Regions from separate parts of the Homo sapiens genome. Here regions 2, 3, 4, 5, 6 and 7 are each linked to region 1. Evidence: promoter capture Hi-C in 16 types of primary human blood cells and fetal thymus (Javierre and others, 2016). All regions are on one chromosome and are shown on one strand. The core of a region is centred on a gene start or on the middle of the fragment in contact, and the rest is flanking DNA. Distances in the headings are between cores, read along the strand shown.

The links. Contacts are between HindIII fragments. The CHiCAGO score rates a contact against its expected background, and 5 or more counts as called.
Region 2: a contact is called between a fragment that was not itself captured here and the fragment with the promoter of UTP14A in region 1, in 2 of 17 cell types (non-activated CD4 T cells and activated CD4 T cells). The highest score is 7.4, in non-activated CD4 T cells.
Region 3: a contact is called between a fragment that was not itself captured here and the fragment with the promoter of UTP14A in region 1, in 5 of 17 cell types (M2 macrophages, monocytes, naive CD8 T cells and 2 more). The highest score is 7.5, in M2 macrophages.
Region 4: a contact is called between a fragment that was not itself captured here and the fragment with the promoter of UTP14A in region 1, in 2 of 17 cell types (activated CD4 T cells and non-activated CD4 T cells). The highest score is 11.3, in activated CD4 T cells.
Region 5: a fragment that was not itself captured here is called in contact with the fragment with the promoter of UTP14A in region 1 in 2 of 17 cell types (neutrophils and monocytes); the score reaches 9.8 in neutrophils.
Region 6: a contact is called between a fragment that was not itself captured here and the fragment with the promoter of UTP14A in region 1, in 1 of 17 cell types (naive CD8 T cells). The highest score is 7.3, in naive CD8 T cells.
Region 7: a contact is called between a fragment that was not itself captured here and the fragment with the promoter of UTP14A in region 1, in 11 of 17 cell types (M2 macrophages, activated CD4 T cells, monocytes and 8 more). The highest score is 9.4, in M2 macrophages.

What each region holds. Positions count from the first base shown.
Region 1 is chrX:129,904,835-129,907,558 of GRCh38, forward strand. It overlaps UTP14A (UTP14A small subunit processome component), which reads left to right and starts at 1,330. Exons shown (of 15, transcript NM_006649.4): 1 at 1,330-1,402; 2 at 2,533-2,608. The coding sequence starts at 1,377. LOC105373335 (a long non-coding RNA gene) reads right to left here. Exons shown (of 3, transcript NR_188631.1): 3 at 2,430-2,724. The HindIII fragment of the contact is 20,573 bases long and covers 1-1,762 here.
Region 2 is chrX:130,348,714-130,351,437 of GRCh38, forward strand. SLC25A14 (solute carrier family 25 member 14) reads left to right here. Exons shown (of 11, transcript NM_001282195.2): 5 at 538-632; 6 at 1,933-2,018. Among named protein-coding and RNA genes, the nearest start is that of SLC25A14, 10 kb to the left of the region's middle. The HindIII fragment of the contact is 845 bases long and covers 962-1,806 here.
Region 3 is chrX:129,540,990-129,543,713 of GRCh38, forward strand. The region is part of intron 2 of OCRL (OCRL inositol polyphosphate-5-phosphatase); the gene reads left to right. Among named protein-coding and RNA genes, the nearest start is that of OCRL, 2.1 kb to the left of the region's middle. The HindIII fragment of the contact is 2,232 bases long and covers 135-2,366 here.
Region 4 is chrX:130,253,488-130,256,211 of GRCh38, forward strand. All of the region lies in intron 2 of ZNF280C (zinc finger protein 280C), which reads right to left. Among named protein-coding and RNA genes, the nearest start is that of ZNF280C, 14 kb to the right of the region's middle. The HindIII fragment of the contact is 5,205 bases long and covers 1-2,724 here.
Region 5 is chrX:129,562,216-129,564,939 of GRCh38, forward strand. It overlaps OCRL (OCRL inositol polyphosphate-5-phosphatase), which reads left to right. Exons shown (of 24, transcript NM_000276.4): 11 at 169-285; 12 at 384-571. Among named protein-coding and RNA genes, the nearest start is that of OCRL, 23 kb to the left of the region's middle. RefSeq lists an enhancer at 2,691-2,724. The HindIII fragment of the contact is 3,992 bases long and covers 1-2,724 here.
Region 6 is chrX:130,227,437-130,230,160 of GRCh38, forward strand. It overlaps ZNF280C (zinc finger protein 280C), which reads right to left. Exons shown (of 19, transcript NM_017666.5): 10 at 1,541-1,698; 11 at 246-346. Among named protein-coding and RNA genes, the nearest start is that of ZNF280C, 40 kb to the right of the region's middle. The HindIII fragment of the contact is 3,165 bases long and covers 1-2,724 here.
Region 7 is chrX:129,580,358-129,583,081 of GRCh38, forward strand. All of the region lies in intron 18 of OCRL (OCRL inositol polyphosphate-5-phosphatase), which reads left to right. Among named protein-coding and RNA genes, the nearest start is that of OCRL, 41 kb to the left of the region's middle. The HindIII fragment of the contact is 3,432 bases long and covers 1-2,724 here.

The DNA of each region.
Region 1 (2,724 bases), core at 80-2,579:
GGAATGGATTACAAGAATGAAAAGAACGGGCCGGGCGCCGTGGCTCACGCCTGTAATCCTAGCACTTTGGGAGGCCGAGACGGGTGGATCATGAGGTCACGAGATCGAGACCATCCTGGCTAACACGGTGAAACCCCGTCTCTACTTAAAAAAAAAAAAAAAATTAGCCGGGTGTGGTGGCAGGCGCCTGTAGTCCCAGCTACTCAGGAAGCTGAGGCAGGTGAATGGTGTGAACCCGGGAGGCGGAGCTTGCAGTGAGCTGAGATCGCACCACTGCATTCCAGCGTGGGCGACGGAGTGAGACTCCGTCTCAAAAAAAAAAAATGAAAAGAATGTTCTTGTCTATTATTTTTCTACAATCATTAATTAATATATATATATATTAGGCCGGGCCCGGTGGCTCACACCTGTAATCTCAGCACTTTGGGAGGCCGAGGCGGGCAGATCACTTGAGGCCAGGAATTCTAGACCAGCCTGGCCAACGTGGCAAAACCCCGTCTCTACTAAAAATGCAAATATTAGCCGAGCATGGTGGCGGGTGCCTGTAATCCTAGCGACTCGGGAGGCTGAGGCAGGAGAATCGCTTGAACCCGGGAGGTGGAGGTTGCAGTGAGCTGAGATCACGCCATTGCACTCCAGCCTGAACGACACAGCAAGGCTCTGTCTCAAAAATAAATAAATAAAATTCTTAAAAGTTGATGGGAGAAAAAAAGTTGTTTAAAAAAATTTTTTTAAGTTGATGGGAGGTGAGGAAGCGTAGTTACTGATGGCCCCTTCTTGGATAAAAAAAATCTTTTGACTCAGGAAATGAAGAACAAAGCTGCAATTACAAGGGATCAAAGGCGATTTTTCCTTAAATGGAAGGAAACTTGTTATGTTCACCATCGGATCTCCGGGGCCCGGCACAATCTGGCCACTTAATAGGCATTCAATAAACCCCCGAGCTGGCTTGTGGTCGGCTTGCAGGACGCCGTCGCACAAGGACGGGCGCTGTAGTCTTTCCTTCTGGATTCTGCAGTGACGAATGAAGGCGCGGGCTCAGCCCCTGAGAGCGCAGCACCGTCGCCCTAAGCTAACCCACCTTGGGCCACGTGGAAACCAGGGGCCAGGAGGACAGACACCCGCGCGCCAGAGAAATACGGGGTGGGTGGAGAAAGGAATGCCCCACCCGCTGACAGCCGTTTCATCTCAGGCCTCCCAGTTTTCTGCAGGCCCCTCCCTACACGGCTCCTGCTTCTCTCACGCCTCGTACGGAACGGAAGTGACGTGTACGTCGCGAGCGATTGACGGAAACAGAAATTGCTTTGCGGCCCGCACGGAAATTGCTTTCCTTCGGCTTCCGTTCTTGGTCCATGTGAGAGAAGCTGGCTGCTGAAATGACTGCGAACCGGCTTGCAGAGAGGTGAAGGGCAACGAGGGGAGGGGGGATTCTGGGTCTCGTTGGGGGCCGGGTTCCCCAGCTTTTGGGAAATGGGAGCCCCCCCTTTAACAGATGGCAGTGGTTCCCCTGAAGAGCTGGCCATTCGTTCCTATTTTCCGCGATCCAGCCTTTAAAGCCCTTTTAATTTAATTTCATTCGCTTACTCCGCTCCTCAGCTGTATAGCCGCATCCCTGTTGGTCCTGATGCTGTTTCTGCCTCCCCAGCTCATTTACTGTGTTTCACATTTTTCGTCACGTGGCCCCTTTTTCTGCCTCTGTCGCGGCCCGATTTAATCCTCTGCGCAGGCAGTGCAGGCGTTATAAACTCCCCGAATCTTGGAAAGCTTTGCTGATTGGAGTCATCCACCACGTTTTGGCTCCTGTGATGTTTTGTGCCCCCCCCACCCCGCCCCCGGAACTAAATGTAGTCCGTTTAGTAATGTTGGCTTTGCAAATACTAATAATATATGCTGTTAGGTAATGGTACATTTTATAATTTGTTTGTGGGTACCAATCTCCTTAGTTAAGCACCTACTTTACTAAGCAAGCCCCAGGGAAAGTGGCTTACCCAGCTGCTTTCGACCTGTTTCTCCATTCCTGGGAACAAGGATCAAGATAACACTTTTGATTAGGCTGCCTATCAATGAGTCAAATATATGGAGGATGCTTAGAAATATTAATCGTGAAACTGCCTTGCCTCCAGGGCTAGCTAGCAACAGCGTCTTTGGCCATATTATTCTAGGGTCTGACATTTTTACAGCTTCCCATAGGTCATAGGAAATGTTGTGCCAATCCCTGAAAAGTGATAGCTCTTTTACATGCAGTTTTGAAGTCAGGCATCACTCTTGGAGGTGATGCCTGACTTCAGTCTAAATTTCACATCTTGACAAGTTTCCAAAGGCATTCACGCTGCTTTATATATCTTCTGAGGGATAGGGCTATTCTGTGCTGAAATTACAATGTTTTCGAGATTGTTTTAATAGATTAGACATTGCTTCAAATAATAATATTTCTTTTTTTAATTTCGACTTTTATTATAATTAAGGGATACATATGCAGGTTTGTTACATGGGTATATTGCATTCACATTTCTCTGTTGCCTCTTTTAACAGCCTTCTGGCTTTGAGCCAACAGGAAGAACTAGCGGATTTGCCAAAAGACTACCTCTTGAGTGAGAGTGAAGATGAGGTGGGTGACAATTGCTAAACTGCCTTCAAAATTAGGGTAGAGAGCACATTCCTGGAATGGAAGGGTGTGACAATGTTCTATGTATTTGTTCAGGTCTCTCAAATAAATTGCAAATG
Region 2 (2,724 bases), core at 134-2,633, 440 kb after region 1:
GGGTTATTTTGCTTTTCTTTTTCTAGTTTCTTGAGGTAGGAGCATAGATTATTGATTTGAGACTCTACCCCCCCCCCCCCTTTTTTTTTTTTAAAATGCAAGCATTTCATGCTGTAAATTTCCCTCAGCACTGCTTTGGCTGCATCTCATACATTTTAATAGGTTGAATTTTGTTGTCATTTAGACCTGTGAATTAAAAAAAAATTCCTTTGACAGACACTTGGTCTGACCAATAGATTATTTAGATATATATTGTTTAATTTCTAAATGTTTGAGGATTTTTCTTATTGATTTCTGGTTTGATTCCATTATTGTCAGATAACATATTGTATATGATTTCAGTTCTTTTAAATTTGTTGAGGTTGGTTTTATGACCCAGAATGTTCAGTTTCTTGCTGAGTGTTTCATGAGTGCTTGAAAAAAATCATATTCTGCTGTTGTTGGGTAGAATGAGATGGGTAGTCCAAATAAGTAGGCTATCTAGATATGTATAATCTGAAAATGTTGAGAATAACTTTTTACTTTTTTTTTTTTCAGAATTGCTCCTGCGTTGCTAAGACAAGCATCATATGGCACCATTAAAATTGGGATTTACCAAAGCTTGAAGCGCTTATTCGTAGAACGTTTAGAAGGTCAGTATACTTACCCTCTTTTGAGGTGATACTCAAAGGGATTGTTGAAATCATGCTTAGTGAGAAATGTTGGTCATGAGGTGCCTGAGAATGGAGGAGAGTCACTGCAAAGACAAAGTGAGCTTGTTCTAACTTGGAATAAATCTTTGCAGAGGTGATATATGAATTAGAGAGACCTGTTCTTCAAATTTGTCCCTTTTCCTATCAACAAAAAAGGCATGTGATCATCCCAAAAGAAACATGGAACAATCTTGTCCAGAAAATTAATGCTATCTTCATCAATAAGAGGACTTCAACTGTAAGGCATTTTCTAGCTGGCAATTTTGATAAGCTTTTATTAGGCAGAATAATTTTAGGCTGTTTTCTAAATTCTGATGTACCTTTGGCTACCTTATGCATATTCAGCATTATCATATGTCTGTTTGCTGCTGTAGCATTTTCCATCATGATACTACACTAAATGGTTATTTTACCACAGGCCTGGGGCTGTTGGATGTTTGGGGACAGCTGGAAAGCCTTTCGGTTAGTAATGTCCTTTGAATCACTTTATTGTCCTAAAGTCAACTTTTTCTGAAGCCTTTTTTTGGGGATTGTGAAGGGTTCTCTTCCACCTCTTTCTGAAATATTTTTCTTTCATAGATTCTTCACTTGGGTTTATTTAGTTTCTATTTGTGGGGTCTTCATGGTGTGAAGGAGCGGTAAAGATTGAATTTCACTATAGAACAATGTGCTCTGTGGTTTCTTTGTTCTTTTTTCTCACTGAGGAGATTTAGTTCTAAATGATTGCTTTTTCATATTTGACTACAGAAATATTTTATAAATTAACAGAGGCTAGGAGAGATCTCAGGCCTATCAAAATTAATATTCAAATAAGTTTTTTGTATTAGACGTAAGATTTTCTCTTTTAACATTCAGTTCCTGAATCTTTAGAGTTGATGATTACCCAGAAAAAGACTTAAAAAGTATGTTCTTTAGATGTTTGAAAAGGTCGAAGGGGAAATACCACCTTCTGAATTTGTGTGTGGGATACTGATAGTTATGTAGAAGAAAAGGACGTGTTCCAGTGTCCTTTAGAAATAATGATGTTTTTAGAAATGATTTATATTTTACAAGTTTTAATATATTTTAGCACTGAATTGAGATCTAGAAATATTTGAGTTTCTTTATTTTCCTAAGCTTTTTGGTTCATTTCTAAAGTCATCTCTCTAACCAAGTTTCCCTTCCTCCAGTAGGTCAGTAGTATGTACTCAAACTGGTGCCTAATACAAGCAGACCTTTCTTTTTCTTTTCCTTTTCACAGATGAAACTCTTTTAATTAATATGATCTGTGGGGTAGTGTCAGGAGTGATATCTTCCACTATAGCCAATCCCACCGATGTTCTAAAGGTAAGAGAGATACAGTGTGATTTGAAAGGAGCATAACTTTGAGTCAGATTTGGGTTCAGATTCCCACTCTGTCACTTGCCAGCTGTAGAACCTTGGGCAAATCAGTTAACTGCATTAAGCCTCAATTTCATCATTTGAAAAATGAATATAATACAGTGTTTATAACATAGAGTTGTAAAGGATTAGCGATAATATATATATAAACTGCCTATCATTGTACTTGGTGTAGTAGATGCTCAATAAATGGCAGTCAGTTTATTATGATATGTGTTAATCCACTGGTCCTCACACTGGGGTATGCAAGACCCTATAGGTTCTTTCCAAGGGCTATGCAGTTTTATAGGAATCAATTTCCAGATCTCTTACATCCATTTGTACTCCATCCTAAAACTGGTACGAGAATGAATCTGTTCATAATAGCCCTTACTCAATTTTACAAAAGAAATGTACGTCCCCACCTATTCTAAATCTTGGTATGGTATGTTGACCTGTGGTATAACCTGGGATGCCAAACAGAGGGGTAAACTGAAATACAGTTCTTGGAGAAGCCTATTTTAGTAACCAATTTGGGTATCTTAAGTCTGTAATGCCTCTGTCTTTCCCTGTCTTATTAATATTTCTATTCAGGGTGAGATTTGGCTTTAAACATGGTATATTTTGGCCTGTATTGGAATATTCTGAATTCAGAACCAGAATAGTATAGGTT
Region 3 (2,724 bases), core at 1-2,500, 360 kb before region 1:
TTCCAAGCCTCTGGATTGTGCTTGGCAGTGTGGCTCAGTGGAAGGACTGAATGGGCGGGGAAGCAGGAAGCCTGGGTTCTTAGTTCCTGCCCCTGCAACTGACATGTGTTGTGTAACGTTGGGCAAGTCAATAAAGCTTTCTGGGCCAAAGTTAACTCTTCAGTTTAATAAAACCATTAACTGCCTTACCTTACAGCCTTTGGAATTATAACTGGGGGAAAAATAAATGCGAGAGTGGCTTCCAAAAAGTAAAAGTGCTATGGAAATGCTTCATTGTTAACGTTACAGACTTGTCTTAACCCTATTCAGCTGGTTTCTCCAGTCTCCCCGTCCCCTTATCCCACTGGGTTGAAGGCATATTCATTAATTCAGTAATGGTTTAGTGTAGGCCAGAAACTGCCTCACTTACTGACTTTACTGTTAGAAAGAAAAGGTAATGAAATGTGTAGAGATAGAAATGACAGTATTTTATCAGTGTGTCACCTTCCTCTCTGCCATAGGAGCTCCGTAAATACTGTTGACTGATTGATCAAAAGATTATTTTGATAAGCTATCACCATAGCTGCTAACCTCACTCTATTGTCACTAATATCTTATCTCAAAAATATCCATGGTGACCATTACGTATCATAGGCCCCTATCCCTGTGTGCCCAAGACACCTCACTTGGATATTCATTGGCTTCTTGACATCATATTCCTTCCCAGTTTAAAAATTGTTCACTTAAATCTTGCCATCTCCCAACATTGGCTTCTGCCTAAAACCAATTTTCTCAGTCCCCACTTTTAGATCCTCTGTATCTATGCTGTCAGATTTACACGGAAGAAATTCCCACTGGCCCAACCTGCTCTTCTCTGAGACTATTGGTGCCACTCTAACTGGATGTCAGCTAATTCTGTGAAGTAGCTCTTTCATAGGTCCTGCTTAGTCAGCTCTACTGGGAAGTTCATCAAACCCGGATTTCATCAAACCCTGGAAGACTAGTTTAATGAAACTAAACTAAATTCAGAATTTAATAAAACAAAATTCAGCAGAAAAGTGGAACACCACTAACATTTCCAAAGGCTAGAGTGGGTTACAGAGAGGTGACCCTTGGGCAAACCAGTAAAACTTGTGTGCCTTGGTTTCCTCTAATGTAAAAACAAAATCATGAAGATTGAATAGAGTAGCTACATTGTTGAGATGACCACAGCCCAGAATCTAGTCCCTCGGATTAGTAGATTTGGAACTCTGTTGAGCTAATAAGGAAGTCGTGTGTTCCAATTCTGTGTAAGTTATGGGGGTATAGTTGGGGGTATATGTGGGGGTATGGGGCTGCTATATAACTAACATTAATATATAGGTAACACTATATAACAACTATATAACTAACAACTAATATAGTTGTTGCTATATTAGCAGTTTATATATAAACTATGTAAATAGTTTTAAATATATATAAACTATAGTTTTAAATACATATAAACTATAGTTTATATATAAACTAACATATAACTAACAACTAATATAGTTGTTGCTATATAACTAACATTCAATGGCTGCTTATGTGCCAGGTACTGTTCTAAGCCCTTTTCATTAGTTAGTTCATTTAATCCACATGTGAGGGTTACTATAAGATAGTAATATCATCATCCCCCTTTTATAGATACAGAAATTGAAGCACAGACAGGTTAAGTCACTTGTTTGCAATTAGGGAGTAGAATACCTGAGATCTGATCCTATGTAACATGTCTCAGAATTACACTGAGAAGTTTCTCTTGAAAGCATTTGCTGGAGACACCTAATACCATAATACCATCTGTAATCCTCATATTCTTGTCTCTCTGGTGTCTTTTCTGACTCGAGTGTCCAGAACTTTTTACTTTTGGCTTTTTTATCCTAGAACTTGAAGCCTGACTTAAATCTTTAGGTCTGTGGTTCCTACTGTCAACCATAGGAAATTTGCTTGACCAAAATTACAATTAAAAATCAGGGTTTTTTTGGAAACAGGGAATCAAACACTTAAGATTCATATTTTTCAAGGATAATAGATTATGACAAAACCTGTTTGACCTTTAACCTTCCTTGAACAAATCAAAGTGTTTCCTAGGGATAAGGCAGAGTTGGCATTCAGGATTTGTCACTCTTTTCTGTTTGACAACTACCAAATTCTGAATTCCATTGTTTTGCTGTATACCAATTATTTCTAATCTTTATATTCTGAAATGAATAATTACACTCAGAATTTTTATGCTTATTCTTAGCCCTACTCTTTTATTGTAATTTAGTGGGTAACACGTAGTAAATACTCAATAAATGTTGGTGAAATTCACTTAAATTCTCAGTTTATTTGTTTTGTAATAGTTTTTAACAGTACTGTCCAGATGAAGCTTTAATGCTAATGTTCAACACCATTTCTTGTTTATGTATTTTGAGATTTTAGTGGTTTGTGTTTATCTTCCTCAAAGTAAGCTCTTCCTCCTTAACCCTTGATTTCTCAGCCTTTTATCTGGTTTCTGGTTTCCATCTGGGTTTATAGGACTCTCCACTCAACTCATGAACTTTCCAGATGGAAAGGGGCCTGCCCCATATTCCTGTAATCACCTTAGAGTACAAACCCCTGCAAATTAGGCAAGAAGGATCACAGCAGAAAAACAGCATTAATACTTTTATTTCCCTTAGTTCTATCTAAGTAATTACTTATCCTATCCCAGGTTATCCTCTTCAAAGTTAACACATTTGAAAA
Region 4 (2,724 bases), core at 116-2,615, 350 kb after region 1:
GCATCATGCTACCTGCCTTCAAATGGTACAGGGCTACAATAACCAAAACAACATGGTCCTGGTACAAAAACACATATATAAACCAATGGAACAGAATAGAGAGCCCAGAAATAAGGCCACACACCTACAGCCATCTGACGTTCGACAAAGCTGACAAAAACACACAATGGGGAAAGGACTCCCTATTCAATAAATGGTGCCAGGATAACTGGCTAGCCATATGCAAGAGACTGAAACTGGACCCCTTCCTTACACCATACACAAAAATCAACTCAAGATGGATCAAAGACTTCAATGTAAAACCCAAAACTATAAAAACCCTGGAAGACAACCTAGCCAATACCATTCTGGACATAGGAATGGCCAAAGACTTCATGACAAAGACGTCAAAGGCAATTACAACAAGAGCCAAAATTGACAAATGGGCTCTAATTAAATGAAACTATAGACAGAGCAAAAGAAACTAGAGACAGAGTAAACAGACAACCTACAGACAGGAGAAAAATTTTGCAAATCATGCATCTGACAAAGGGCTAATATCCAGCATATATAAAGAACTTAAACAAATTTACAAGAAAAAAGCAAACAACCCCATTGAAAAGTTGGCAGTGGATGTGAACAGATGCTTATCAGAAGAAGACATACATGCAGGCAACAAGCATATGAAAAAAAGCACAACATCACTGATCATTAGAGAAATGCAAATCAAAACCACACTGAGATATAATCTCTCACCTGTCAGAATGGCTATTCAAAAGTCAAAAAAATAACAGATGCTGGGGAGGTTGCAGAGAAAAAGGAACATTTATACACTGTTGGTGGGAGTGTAAATTAGTTCAACCACTGTGGAAGACAGTGTGGTGATTCCTCAAAGAGCTAAAAACAGAACTACCATTAGACCCAGCAATTCTATTACTAGGTATATACCCAAAGGAATGTAAACTCTTCTATCATAAAGACACATGTATACATATGTTCACTGCAGCACTATTCACAGGAGCAAAGACATGGAATCGACCCAAATGCCCATCAATGGTAGACTGGATGAAGAAAATGTGGTACATATACACCATGGAGAACTTTGCAGCCATAAAAAAGAGCAAGGTCATGTCCTTTGCAGGAACATGGATGGAGCTGGAGACCATTATCCTTAGCAAACTAATGCAGGAACAGAAAACCTAATACCACATGTTATCACTTATAAGTGGGAGCTAAATGATGAGAACACATGGACATATAGAGGTGAACAACAGATGCTGAGGGCCTACTTGAGGGTGGAGGGTGGGAGGAGGGAGAGGATCAGGAAAAATAACTCATGAGTACTAGGCTTAATACCTGAGTGATGAAATAACCTATACAACAAACCCCCAAGACATGAGTGTACCCATAACAAACCTGCACATGTATCCCTGAACTTAAAATAAAAGTTAAAAAAAGAAGACACAGATAATACAGAGCAAGAGACAATAATAGGATATAATAAACATCTTTAGACAGATAAGACAACGATATTATATAAAGACAGCCAAAATTCAGTTAAAAAAAAAAAAAAGTCAAATGTCAAAGTTGAGTAAATGTGAAACCAAAAGACAAAAAACACATATATTAAACACAGAAAACAAGATTGGTAGAAAAATCATTTTCTTTTTTTTTCTTTTTTTTTTTTTTTTTGAGACGGAGTCTCGCTCTGTCACCCAGGCTGGAGTGCAGTGGCGGGATCTCGGCTCACTGCAAGCTCCGCCTCCCGGGTTCACGCCATTCTCCTTCCTCAGCCTCCCAAGTAGCTGGGACTACAGGCGCCCGCCACTACGCCCGGCTAATTTTTTGTATTTTTAGTAGAGACGGGGTTTCACCGTTTTAGCCGGGATGGTCTCGATCTCCTGACCTCGTGATCCGCCCGCCTCGGCCTCCCAAAGTGCTGGGATTACAGGCGTGAGCCACCGCGCCCGGCCGAAAAATCATTTTCAAAGGTATAAAATGCACCTAACAAAAGCTCCAGAAAAAAAAAAAAGAGAGAGAAAAAGGAGAGGAGAAGTAATCAAAGGAAAATACAAAAAAAATTCCTAGTTCTCATGGATATAAATCTACAGAAAGAAAGGGCCCACTAACAGCCAGCACAATGATCAAGAATAAAAACTACACTAGCGGGACATATGAAATTTCAGAATATCAGAAATTGCCAGGTGGCTGAGTGTGGTGGCCCAGGCCTGTAATCCCAGCACTTTCGGAGGCCAAGGCAGGTGGATCACTTGAGGCCAGGAGTTCGAGACCAGCATGGACAACATGGTGAGACGCTGTCCCTACTAAAAATACAAAGATTAGCTGGGCATGGTGGTGCGCACCTGTAATTCTAGCTGCTTGGGAGGCAGAGGCACAAGAATCGCCTCAACCCAGGAGCCGGTGGTTGCAGTGAGCTGAGATAGGACCCTGCCACTGCAATCTAGCCTGGGTGATGGAGAGTCTCACTCAAACAAACAAACAAGAATAAAGAACAGCTTAGTCAGGCATGGTGGTGTGCACTCAAGTCCTAGTTACTCAGAAAGCTGAGGTGGGAGAATCACCTGAGCTCCAGGAGGTGGGGCTGCAGTGAGCCATGAAGGTGCCACTGCACTCCAATCTAGGCAACAGAGTAAGGGCTTATCTCCAAAAAAAAATAAGAATAAGAATAAAGACCAGCAATATTATACAACATTTCCCTCTCATTCCCCCTTTCTTAGTAGGAAT
Region 5 (2,724 bases), core at 1-2,500, 340 kb before region 1:
CAGAGAATATTAGTTTCCACTTGACGGGGTCCACTGAGAAATTAGAGGATATGAAGTCAGATTTGGGCACTAGTATATCATCTTGATGGAAAATTAGTCGTGGGACATTAGAAATGTGGCAAAGATTGGTATTAACATTAACCTTTTGTAACTCCCCGGAACTCATAGGTTCAACTGGTGCGCCTTGTTGGGATGATGCTTCTTATATTTGCCAGAAAGGATCAGTGTCGATACATTCGTGATATTGCTACAGAAACAGTTGGAACTGGAATCATGGGGAAAATGGTGAGTTACTTTGGAAATGAGCTTGATTATTATTCATGTTCATGTAAAGTTCAGTTGCTTGTTCTGTGTACTAATTGAATAATTACTCTTGCTAACAGGGAAACAAAGGTGGGGTAGCTGTGAGATTTGTATTTCACAACACCACCTTTTGCATTGTCAATTCCCATCTGGCTGCACACGTGGAGGACTTTGAGAGAAGGAATCAAGATTATAAGGACATTTGTGCGAGAATGAGTTTTGTGGTCCCAAATCAGACCCTCCCGCAGTTGAACATCATGAAACATGAGTAAGTGGTTAACTCACCTGTAGCCTTTGAGTAGTGGCTACAGGAGTTTGGATAGTGTAGAGATTAAATGTGAGATACTGTAGAGCTGTGAAGAGTGAAAGATTACCAGTGAGGGATTGGGGTCACAAAGGAGAGGGTTTTTGAGTAATAACAGAATCATTGAGGCAGAGAAATTAGACTTGATATCAGAGGAAAAGATAGTTCTATTAGTGGGGCACCTAGAATAATGCTGGAGGGTCTGTAGTTGGAGTCAGTTTTTATTGTTTTTATGATAAAATAGAAATATTCATTGCAAATGTAATAAAAGATAAAATTAGAAGTTAAATTTCCTCATTTCTTATTCTCTACCTAGCCAGTCCCTCTCTCCAAAGGAAACCATTCTTAACAGTTGGGTGTGTAGCCTTTTAGATCTGTACTGTCCAATATGACAACCAGTAGCCATATATGGCTGTTAGGTACCTGAAAGTGACTGGTCCAAATTAAGATATGCTGTATGCATAAGCTATATATTGGATTTTAAAGACTTAGGAAGAAGATGTACGATATCTTGATTTCTAAAATATTGATCACATGTTGAAATAATTTGGATATATTGAGTAAAATGAAATTTATTGATACTCACTTGTTTTTTTTCTTTTTAAATGCAGCTACTAGAAAACTTAAAATTATATTGTGAGGTGCATTATAATTCTATTAAATAGCACTATTCTAGCCTTTTGTCTATTCATATACAAACACACACATAGGTACTTGGTGTATAAGACTGTATTATTCTATTTATTGTGGATTCCTTTCCAAGCCAGTATATATAGATCTACATTATTCTTTTTAATGGCTGTGCTTATTAAAAACAGGGGCAGCAGAGAGAGGTCAGTGAAGAATGGGATTTAATAAGCATAGAAGCAGAGATGTGTTGAGGAGTAGATGTGGTGGTAGAAAATGATTAGTTTTAAAGAAATTAATATACCTAAAACCATGAAAACCCTAGAAGAAAACCTAGGCATTACCATTCAGGACATAGGCATGGGCAAGGACTTCATGTCTAAAACACCAAAAGCAATGGCAACAAAAGCCAAAATTGACAAATGGGATCTAATTCAACTAAAGAGCTTCTGCACAGCAAAAGAAACTACCATCAGAGTGAACAGGCAACCTACAAAATGGGAGAAAATTTTCGCAACCTACTCATCTGACAAAGGGCTAATATCCAGAATCTACAATGAACTCAAACAAATTTACAAGAAAAAAACAACCCCATCAAAAAGTGGGCAAAGGACATGAACAGACACTTCTCAAAAGAAGACATTTATGCAGCCAAAAAACACATGAAAAAATGCTCACCATCACTGGCCATCAGAGAAACGCAAATCAAAACCACAATGAGATACCATCTCACACCAGTTAGAATGGCAATCATTAAAAAGTCAGGAGACAACAGGTGCTGGAGAGGATGTGGAGAAATAGGAACACTTTTACACTGTTGGTGGGACTGTAAACTAGTTCAACCCTTGTGGAAGTCAGTGTGGCGATTCCTCAGGGATCTAGAACTAGAAATACCATTTGACCCAGCCATCCCATTACTGGGTATATACCCAAAGGACTATAAATCATGCTGCTATAAAGACATATGCACACGTATGTTTATCGCGGCACTATTCACAATAGCAAAGACTTGGAACCAAGCCAAATGTCCAACAATGATAGACTGGATTAAGAAAATGTGGCACATATACACCATGGAATACTATGCAGCCATAAAAAATGATGAGCTCATGTCCTTTGTAGGGACATGGATGAAATTGGAAATCATCATTCACAGTAAACTATCGCAAGAACAAAAAACCAAACACTGCATGTTCTCACTCATAGGTGGGAATTGAACAATGAGAACACATGGACACAGGAAGGGGAACATCACACTCTGGGGACTGTTGTGGGGTGGGGGGAGCGGGGAGGGATAGCTTTAGGAGATATACCTAATGCTAAATGACGAGTTAATGGGTGCAGCACACCAGCATGGCACATGTATACATATGTAACTAACCTGCACATTGTGCACATGTACCCTAAAACTTATAATAATAAAATAAAATTTAAAAAATTAATATAGAGAGTAGAGTCATTGGGGAAAGAGGAGGAAAGAGTAGGGATAT
Region 6 (2,724 bases), core at 95-2,594, 320 kb after region 1:
TAGGGCATTTCCTCATCTAGCACAGAGGTCAGCAAACTACAACCCACAGGCAAAATCTACTCCACCCCTTTACTTACAATGCATGAGTTAAACCCAAGGGGGTTTCCACTAATGAAGAGGGTCTTCAATTTTAGCATAGTAACTAATTTTATTTAAATGGCTTTAAAAAATCAAAAGAACAATACTATTTCATGGCACATGAAAATTAAACAAACACTTAACTACACAATAAAATGTGTGTGTACCTGGCAAACATATGGCATTTCACCAGGTTTATGGGTGTCCTTCATATGTTGTAAAAGAATATGCTCTGTTTCAAATGATAATTCACAGATTTTGCAAATAGCTGAAAGTGGAAAAAAACACATTATACCATTTAAGGATGTATATAAAAAAAGATTCATTTTGTACATCCACAACAAGTAATAATAATAGTAGAAGTAACAGTGATGTGGTTCTAACAATTCTATAGCTGTTGACTCTGTAATGCTGTTCCAAGGATATATTAGCTTATTTAATTCTCGTAACATCACTGAGGAAGGTACTGTTATTTTTATTCCTATTTTTCAGATGAGGAACCAGAAGCACAGAAAAATTAAGAAACTTGCTTGAGATCTCACAGCTGTAGTAAGAGGCAAAGTTGGAATCTGAACCAAATTTGTCCGCGTCTCAGACTCTAAATCTTAACATTGTAGTTAACTTTTGTCTAAAGTGTAAATCAAGACAATTAACTTCAAATTTGAAAACCATGGAATCTGGGTGTTCTAATTTAGTCCCCTACACCAATGCATGTGCCAAGGAAGTTTCCACTAATGAATTGTTTATAAGAAAGATTTCAATTATTTTATTTTATTTTATTTTTTTGAGATGGAGTCTCGCTCTTGTTGCCCAGGCTGGAGTGCAATGGTGCCATCTCGGCTCACCGCAACCTCTGCCTCCTGGGTTCAAGTGATTCTCCTGCCTCAGTCTCCCAAGTAGCTGGGATTACAGGCGTGCGCCACCTTGCCTGGCTAATTTTGTATTTTTAGTACAGATGGGGTTTCTCCATGTTAGTCAGGCTGGTCTCTAACTCCCGACCTCAGGTGATCAACCCACCTCGGCTTCCCAGAGTGCTGGGATTACAGGAATGAGCCACTGCGCCCGACCAAGGGACTTCAATTTTAACAGTTTTTTTCTTCTACTTTTTTTTTTTTTTTTTTTTTTTGTAGAGGCAGGGTCTTACTATGTTGCCCAGGCTGGAGTGCAGTGGCTATTCACAGGTGCAATTGATCATAGCATTCTATAGTACTGAACTCATGGGCTCAAGTGATCCTCCTGCCTCAGCCTCCTCAGTAGCTGGGTGTATAGGCATGCACCATCACACCTGGCTTTAGAACACATTTCATCTAGGTTTATAAAAGTTATGATTTTTTTTTTCAATTTTGCCCTCATATTACAAAGTCTACTTCTTATTTTTTTCTGCCAGAATTTTTAAGGTTTCCTCACAGTTCGGATGATCAAAGTCAACAATATTCAGGATTCCAAAGAAACTTTCACTTACTAGAAAACTCATGGGGAGTGTGTGTACTCTCAATGTGGCACTGCAGTTGGAAGGGTGTGGGATATTGCCGGTAACAGTGCTGGCAGGTGGTGTGGTTTTCCCAGCTTTCATTGTTCTGCTTCTCAAGTTCCAAGTGATGTTTCATGTGGTTCATAAACCTACAAACAATTTGCCAGTAAGAGCAAAAATTCAGACTTATAACCAAAGAAAAACCTCACAAATAAGTCTCTGAAAATAAATTTTTAAAATGTAATTCTATGACTCAAAATAACATCTCCAAGGCCTGAAAGCACTCTATAAAGTGTGTACTTTAAATAATTTACTTTCATTAAGTGGCTCAGTAAGGTTTTTTTATCTTTGTTTCTAAAATAATCCATTAATGTAGTAGTATGAAACATCACTAATTTGCTGTAACACTATATCATTATTTTAGATTTAAAATTTTTTTTAGCAAAGAAAAATAGCAGGCTTCTTTTCCATACATGAAATACTATTTACATTTTAAAATAAAATACTGAAAGGATGGAAACTCTACCACCAAAAGCAGCTACAGTGAAGAGACAAATCTTTGAAAGCTCTGAAGGTTTCAGCTGCTCAAAAGACAAACTGCTGGTATATTTTTATTTGTGTCTTGGTTTCTAAATGCATGCAATAGCAATTTTAATGACTATAATTACAAGAACCTTTTGTTTTATCTAATTATACTGGCTTACTGTTAGCACAAACTATTCATTTTTCTTAGCAGGCTGTGCCCTTTGTAGCACTGTCTATTTTTCAGTTTTACCTTCTGCTATTTTAGCTTCTCTGAAAGGCTTCTGAAGAGAAGGAACTATGATGTTCAATGGCAGAGAGTACAATATAAATGGACATACCATTTTCAAAGGGCTTACTAAAACTTTTTGCTGAATTTCAAAGTAAAGTTATTCAATGTAAACAACAGTTTTAAGACTGGGTCAACTACTTACAATTATTATGAATCACTAAAGAAAATAATCTTGAAACAAAGTGATAATGTCATCAACCTACATAGCAATCATTGTGAAGGTTTGGGTTTTTATCTTTTTTCACACCTCCAAAACACTTCTCTTTGGTTTTGGTAAACGCCTGCAATTTATTTTAAAATGGAAAAATTTGAGCTTTAAATAAGGTTAGTATGGAGGAGGTCATGCTGCATAGGGTTCTTC
Region 7 (2,724 bases), core at 158-2,657, 320 kb before region 1:
GTGAAGATCAAGGATAAGAATGTATGAAGCTGGTTAGGGAGAATGGGGCAGGTGGTAGAGAGTCTTGAAGTCAATAGATAAGTTTATGCATGAGCCAGAGGGTATCTAGAACCATCAGAAGGGTTTGCTGATTAGTATGAGGTTGCAAATTGATATAGTTGGAAGAACATTCTGGTGTTACTTGTAGAATGGACTAATTGAAAGGAGACAAGACTTGAACTTGCCAGATGTGGCTAAGTTGTAAATACGGAGATGAAAAAAGTTGAGGGATGGGTAGAGAAACTATATTTGCTTGGGGACATATCTGTTGGGAGAACAATATCAAAAGTTTGAAATAACAGGAATAACTTGTTAATTTGTCCGTAGTGTTTTTTTCACTATGTTTTTACTTTGTCTTACTAATCTAACCATCCATTTCTTACTCTGTTAAGTATATGGCTTGTATTTCTTCTCTATTTCATATGAACTAATCCTTTTTAGAACTTCATTTTCCATTCAGTTTTCGGCTATTTATTTATTTATTTTTGAGATGGAGTCTTACCCTGTCGGCCAGGCTGTAGTGCAGTGGCACAATCTTGGCTCACTGCAACCTCCATCTCCCAGTTCAAGTGACTCTCCTGCCTCAGCCTCCCGAGTAACTGGGACTACAGGCGCGCGCCACCACGCCTGGCTAATTTTTGCCTTTTTAGTAGAGATGGGGTTTTACTGTGTTGGCCAGGCTGGTCTTGAACACCTGACCTCAGGTGATCCACCCGCCTCAGCTTCCCAAGGTGCTGGGATTACAGGCGTGAGCCACCGTGCCCGGCTATGCTTTTTATTTTTAAATTTGCATCTTCCACCTCTAATTGACTCTTTTATTTTAGCTGCATTTACCACGGGGAACAGTCTTCTGAGGGTGAATGTTGGGGTAAAGAATGATTTGCATTGCATTTGCTATGTGCCAGTGTTGTCCCACTGGGGAAATCCTGAACTAAGTTCTCTTTTTAAATGTAATCCATATATAGCCTTTTGCAGAGAATGGGCATCTCTGCTCTTTAAAATTGGTTGAACTAAGTGATTCATAGTAGAAACCTTAGGATTATTATAGGAGTAAGCTGTTTACTAATAAAGGTTAAGTGATGCTTCTGTTTTCAAAATTGAGACCAAGGTTGAATTCAATGTAATTTCTATGTTGTTTCTTTGTGCCTGTACCTAGAGAAGTAAATCTCTTGTCCCTCCATCAGTATTTAATCAAAGTCCTTTTGATTCTTCTTTCAGAATTTTCTCTTGTATTCATTCATTTGTAAGTGTATGTATATACCTTTTATTATATATATATATCCTTTAATATATATACTTAGAAATTATATATATATATATACACACACCTGTGTGTGTGTGTGTGTGTGTGTGTGTATAAAATTTTCCATTATTAAGATGTTTACCTTCTTCTGCTTGACCTACCTCGGTAGCCTTTGAATGATCCCTTTGTCTTTCTCTCTCTCTCTCTCTCTCTCTCTCTCTCTCTCTGTCTCTGTCTCTGCCCTTCATTTTTTCCTATTCAGGGCTGTCAGATTGATCTTTCTGTACTACTGCTTTGGGGCCTATCACTTCCTTGCTTAAAGGTAGTCAGTGGCTTCCCCATGCCTGCTGAATACAATCCAAATGCCTTAATCTGTCATGCAAGGTCCTCCTAAGTCTGACTTCAACATACCTTTTCAGATTTATTTCACACTATTTTTCTTGGCATTCTCCATGCCCCCCACAAACAGATGACTAACTTCTTCCTAATATCAATTTGTGATTTACTGTCTCTGTGCCTTTTGTTTATTTCTGCCTCTTCCACTTGTAATATTCTCTCCCCATCTCTACCCTTTAAAATTCTGTGAGTCTTTTAAAGGGCTAGCAATGATTTATTGAGAACTCGTATTCATGAATTATAACAATACCAGTCTGTAAACTCTGGAACTCCTCACCCCAACTCAGTTGCAAATCAGAGTCAGGGACAAACCAGGTCTTTCTCCTTTATCCTCATTTCTCATTGCCTTCCCCTGCAAAGGCATTTTAGCACAATGCCTTGTACTGGAGGATGGCTGCTGCTTAAAGAAAACTTTTTTGAGAGCCTGGTTCGACAGGTTAGTATACAAAATCTCTGTCTAGTTTTATTCATATCATGTATTAGATATTCATGGGAGGAAAAATATAAAATGTGTCAGATAGATTCTTCATTTGATAACAAGTCCTAAATTTTACAAGAGGTTCTAGTCTAAAATTGTATCAGATGTTGGGCACTCAAAATCAACTTGACATTAAAAGGTATCGTAATTATAGTACTATAAATATGTACCTTATAAAGACTATTCTAATTGCTTTATTTCATGTGATATTTAAGAGTCTAGATAAACCCACAAAAGCATGTTTAATTCGTGAAGTATCTACCAATATTAAAACGCCTAATCCCCATGGATAACAGTAGTGTGGGAGGAATGCATTCAGTATTACCACTAGGAATGCCAGGGAGCACATACTTTTCCTCCTCCCTCTCCACTCCCAGCTCCTGTGCATCTCAGACAGTAAGATTGGGATTTCTCCTTTTACCTAGCAGAACTAAGACATGTAATTTAGACTTGAGTGCTTAGTGGTCCATAGTCAGATTCGAAACAATCCAGGTTGGGAGTCACTGGGGAGGTATGAGGAACTTTGAGGAACCCAGACCTTCTGCTGGCATACTGCCCCATCACCCAT